2 separate regions of the Homo sapiens genome follow, and region 2 is linked to region 1. The links are contacts of gene promoters, found by promoter capture Hi-C in human tissues and cell types (Jung and others, 2019). All regions are on one chromosome and are shown on one strand. Each heading gives the region's core, a stretch centred on a gene start or on the middle of the fragment in contact. The rest is flanking DNA. Distances are from core to core; before and after follow the strand shown. Region 1 holds the start of UTS2R (urotensin 2 receptor). Region 2 overlaps NARF (nuclear prelamin A recognition factor).

Evidence for each region. Contacts are between HindIII fragments. The study calls those that stand out against the background at their distance.
Region 2: a contact is called between a fragment that was not itself captured here and the fragment with the promoter of UTS2R in region 1, in 2 of the 25 tissues and cell types used here (pancreas and spleen).

The regions. Positions count from the first base shown.
Region 1 is chr17:82,370,316-82,373,015 of GRCh38, forward strand. UTS2R (urotensin 2 receptor) reads left to right here and starts at 1,450. Exons shown (of 3, transcript NM_018949.3): 1 at 1,450-1,732; 2 at 2,283-2,468. The HindIII fragment of the contact is 34,629 bases long and covers 1-2,700 here.
Region 2 is chr17:82,473,693-82,476,392 of GRCh38, forward strand. The region is part of intron 5 of NARF (nuclear prelamin A recognition factor); the gene reads left to right. Among named protein-coding and RNA genes, the nearest start is that of NARF, 16 kb to the left of the region's middle. The HindIII fragment of the contact is 9,427 bases long and covers 1-2,700 here.

The DNA of each region.
Region 1 (2,700 bases), core at 200-2,699:
TGAGACCCCATCTCAAAAAAATAAATAAATAAATAATAAAAAAATAAAATAAAAAATAAAAAACCCGGTGTTCGTGTCAGGGCAGGTCGTTTCAGCAGCTACTCGGTGAACTGGCTGAGGTGACAGCAGATCGTTTCGGCAGCTGGCTTGCGGGAAATTTAATTCTTGGAGCAGGCATTCTGGGTCCTGAGTGCTTTTCCCCAGCCCTAGCCCCTAGACTCCAGCTTAGTAATCAGCTCTCACAGAACCATCACGTCGGAGGCAGCCTTCCACCCCCTTTCCTCCCGCGCACAGGCAGGATGAGCTGCTCCCCTTTCGGGTCGGAAGCTGCAGCTGTATTTGGTTTCAGTTCGGCTGTTTTCAGCTCACAGAGAATGAACTGTCTTATTGTGTGACCCTTGCTCCGTCCAGCGGACGCTCGGAGACCAGAGGGACTTTTCCCGCCCTCTCCAGCCCAGCCTCGCCTCCCCAGCACGTGGCAAACGTCCCACGGAGGGGACTGGTGGGCATCTGGGGCTCCCCCGGATCCAGCTGATTGCAGGAGCCTCTCGGCCATTCACACTTGGCCACCTCCTCTCCCCCAGCAGAACCCCTTCAGCTTTAGGGGCCGGTCCGCGGCCTCAGGCAGCAGATGAGCCCCGGGCGGAGTGGAGTGGGCGAGGCCAGCTCCTCGCTGGGGGCCCTTTAGACCCCGTGTTCACAGCTCTCCAGCTCTCCTCTAGTCTAATTTATTAATGTTCTGTGTCTTTTTCTTTCAGGGGTTCAGCATGAGTGAAGGCCCACATCCTACCTCCGAGCAGCAAGTGAAACCGAGTGGGGGCCAGCACCCAGCTCAGGGGCTCGAGGGTGAGGCTGTGGGGTCCTTCCTCCTACCCCGCGGGGCCCTGCAGCTCCCAGCGTCACTTCCGTGGATGTGGCCACCACGAGTCCCTGCCGAGGCCTGGAGAGGCTGCGTGGGCTTCTAAGAGCATCTGTGGGAGACCCGCAACAGGGGCGGGGTCAAGGCCCCCAAAGAGCCCGTCCCCGCCTGGGCGGGTGACTCCCTCCCTCCCTTACCTCCTTTCTATGACCCTCTCGGGGTTTAGGGGTGTTCCTGCCCCCCACCTGCGCGCGGGCGGGTCCAGGGCTTGGTGGACACGGAGAATCCCAGGCTCCGTGCCCTGCAAACACGGGCGTGAGGGGCGCAGGGGTGAACGCTGGAGGCGGAGAACCCAAGAGGGGCTGCGGGGTCAGCCTTGGGGCAGCCGGGCTGGAGGCAGCTTCGCTCCGCAGACGCAGACGCGAGACCCGCCTGGGACCCTCCGCCGACCCCGCTGCGGCCCCGCGACCCCCGCGTCTTCCCGGCGCCGCGCGGTCAGCGCCGCCCCCTAGACACCCGGCGCCGTCCCCTCCGCGCGCCTGCTGCCCGCTGGGGTTATTTTAATACCGGGCCCTGGCGCGGGGCGCGGCGCATTCCCAGCTGGCGGCGGGCAGGTGGCGGCGGCGCAGAGACCCGGCGCGGGGCGGGGGGCGCGGCTTTGGTGGCGGGACTGGCGGGCGCCCCTGCCGTGTGCTCTGGAAGCCGAGGCCACCGCGGAGCCCCTCGCGCCCCCTCTGCGCTGGGACAGGGGAGCGCGCCTCGGAAAGTTCCCCGCGGCCCCGCTGCGCGAGGAGTTTGGAGCCGCGAGCGGCTGCCCCCACGCGCGACCCCAGGCTCGGCGGGCAGGTCTGGCCGCTCAGTGACCGGAGGCAGGTGGGTCCTCGGTGGGTGACCGGGAGCGCGCGGGGACTGCCGGGTCTGTGCCCTTCGGGGCCCTCCGCAGGGCTGGGCCGGGGTTTCGCGGTGGGAACCCACCCTGGGCGAGGGGAGCGGGGTCCAGCGAGGCGGCTTCTCCCGTGCCGTGGAACTTTCGGCCCCTCCCCTTCCCCCCTAGCGACCCTGGAGCAATCCTAGCGGCCCGGCGGCCGCTGTCCCCCTGCCCGTGACTCGGGCTCGCGCACAACTGGGGAGCCCGGTGCACCCTCGGCTTCTGCGCCGTCCCCTGGGTGAGGGCTCTGGAAATGCCCTGGGTGGGGGCAGCAAGGGGGTGAGGGTCCCCTGGACAGATGGAGCTGGGAGCTGCTCGGCCTGGTGGGAAAGGGCGGACAGGGCACATTTCCAGGCCCTGGAAGGCCCCCAGCGCCCCCACCTGTTGACAACTCCCCACCCCAGCCAAGACTGCTCCCTGCGCAGCCATGAGTGTTCGGCCTAAATTCAGCGTGGCTCGTGGAATCAGGCAGCCTCCTGTGTCTTGTTTCTTCAGCCCACCACCGCGCTGTTTCATCCAGGCTGCTGACCCCAGCGGCGACTCCTTCACTGGCTTCATGTCACAGTTTGCCTGCCCCGTCCACTGGGGACATTTGAGCTGTTTCCAGCTTCTTAGGAGTCAAGCTGCCGTGAACTTTCGCACGCTTGTCATTTTCTGAACGTTGGCAGCCCTTTATCTAAGGTACTAACCTGAGAGTAGAATTGCCGGGTGAGAAGGTATAGGCGGTCAACTCTGCAAATCGTGCCAATGGCTTTCCAAAGCGGCGGCACAGTCCAGGTTCCCAGCAACAGGAAACGGCAGGGCCAGCTCCTCCACAGCCCCCACGCCTGTTGACAAGGATATCTGCCTTTTCACGCGTTCATCCTTGTCAGCACGCAGGGGCTCCTGTGGCCCTGACTGGCATTTCCCTGCT
Region 2 (2,700 bases), core at 171-2,670, 100 kb after region 1:
GATTACAGGCTAGCGCCACCACGCCTGGCTAATTTTTGTATTTTTAGTAGAGATGGGGTTTCGCCATGTTGCCCAGGCTGGTCTTGAAATCCTGACCTCAAGTGATCTGCCCGCCTTGGCCTCCCAAAGTGCTGGGATTACAGACATGAGCCACCACACCCGTCCTCTAATTTTTTAAATAAATATTTTTTAAAAGGAAAAGAAAAATAGGCCAGGCATGGTGGCTCACAGCCATAATCCCAACAATTTAGAAGGCTGATGTGGGAGGATTGCTTTAGCCCAGGAGTGTGGGACCAGTCTCGTCAACATAGTGAGACCTCGTCTCTGCAAAAAAAAACAAAAAAAAGCCAGGGGTGGTGGCAAGTACCTGTAATCACAGCTACTACGAATCCTAGCCTGAGGTGTTTGAGCCAAGGAGTTAGAGGCTGCAGTGAGCTATGACTCCTCCATTGTACTCCAGCCTGGGCGAAAGACTGAGGTCCTGTCTCTTAAGAAAATCCGTTTTCTCTTGAAAGTACAACATATCTCAGATGTACAAATAATTATGGAATAATATGGCAAACGTGCATGTATCTTTTGCCAGCTTAAAAAAAATACAGAATAAGAAAATTTCTTTACATTGATATTCAGATACTCTCAGGGCGCACTGTTTAAACCACTCTTTAATTGGTTTTTGGATGCCTGAGTTATAGAAGAGATTTGTCACATGCTTTTCAATTCTGGAAAAATAGAGAGTTTGGGTTAAGAAATCTTCGATGATGCATAAGGGAATAAGGAAGGAATGGCTATCCTGGCAAACAACACTAGTTAAAAATTATTCTACTACATGAGGCCTGTGGGAGCATAGGAGAGCTCTATCTAAGCTAGTCGTAGGCTGTATAATTTTTAGGGTTTGGTTCACGTTTCAGTTCTTAATTTATGCTCCCCCTACAATGGTTTCAAATTTTTCTGGCATTTTACATGTCAACCTTTAGTCATTAGGATTATGAATTAATAAGATGGAACATTGACATCGTGGTTGCTTAGAATACGGACTTACTCTCTAGCCATTTATAAAATATAAAGAGGAAATTTACCATCTGTTCCATGGGCTGCATTGGTTGGCTCGTTATTTGAGCTGTATCGTTCACCAGCAACCCACAGCCTGCTGTGATCTCAGCTCCAGATGGGGACAGGGATGTTAGTGACTTCTTTCAGCTGTATGGTTTGCCTTACTGTAAGTGATTCACAGATTTTTGTATCAGAGGTCGAAGTATAAGCCATTTGACGCCAGATACAGCCTTTTACTAGATTGTGGGTGTTACATTCAGCTCTTGTGGCATTTTGGGTGTGTTTCCAGGTGTAAAGGGATAATTTCCACACCTGATGGTTTCTGGGGCTGCCTGGACTCCAGCAACCTGGGAGTACCTGGTGTTTGTGTGCTGAGCCTGAGCCTGCCTCTGTGGTCCCCTTGCAGGAGTGCTTTCCTTTTGGGACCCTGTTACATGATACCACACACAACATGGCTTCACAACACCAGTCACACTTGCTTAGTTCCACCCCCAACCAAGGAAGAGGCCGTGTAAAATGACAACGAACTAAGGCCCATGCCCCTGGAGCAGTGGTTTTTAAATTATAAAAAATTTAGGCCGGGCGCAGTGGCTCACGCCTGTAATCCCAGCACTTTGGGAGGCCGAGGTGGGCGGATCACAAGGTCAGGAGATTGAGACCATCCTGGCTAACACGGTGAAACCCCGTCTCTACTAAAAATACAAAAAATTAGCCAGGTGTGGCGGGCACCTGTAGTCCCTGCTACTCGGGAGGCTGAGGTGGGAGCTTCACTGGAACCCAGGAGGTCGAGGCTGCAGTGAGCCGTGATTGCACCACCGCACTCCAGCCTGGGTAACAGAGCAACCCTGTCAATCATACATATATACTACATACATACAGCAAATCTCAAGCTAAAATAGGAAGCAAGGGGCTGGCCTGCAGCCAGTGGCTGGAGAAGAGAAAGGATTTGGTGACACATTTCTCAGAAATGCCGTCACTGAGAAGAGACCTCTCAGGGCCCCTACCTAGCATTGTGTTCACTGCCACAGGCGGAGGGATCACCGTTTCTATACAAATCAGCAATCTGCTCAGGATTCACATCAGCAGAGTTAGTTCCTTCAGTGACTTGAGAAGGTTCCATCCCAGTAGGACCTCTCATAAGGAAATCAACAAATGTAAGGAGACTGCAAAAAGTTTGTGGAAGAACAGAATTAAAAGATAAAAAGTATAAACTTTATTTCTCAACATAAGCTCCATCCTGGTCAAGACTTTTTTTTATTTTTTATTTTATTTATTTATTTATTGAGACAGAGTCTCGCTCTGTCACCCAGGCTGGAGTGCATTGGTGTGATCTTGGCCCACTGCAACCTCCATCCCCCAGGTTCAAGTGATTCTCCCAACTCAGCCTCCTGAGAAGTTGGGATTGCAGGTGCATGCCACCATGCCCAGCTAATTTTTGTATCTGTAGTAGAGACAGGGTTTTACCATTTTGGTCAGGCTGGTCTCAAACTCCTGACCTCAGGTGATCGCCCGCCTCAGTCTCCCAAAGTGCTGGGATTACAGGCACTTGCCACCATGCCCGGCTAATTTTTGTATTTTTAGTAGAGACGGGGTTGCACCATGTTGGCCAGGCCAGTCTCAAACTCCTGACCTCAGGTGATCCGCCTGCCT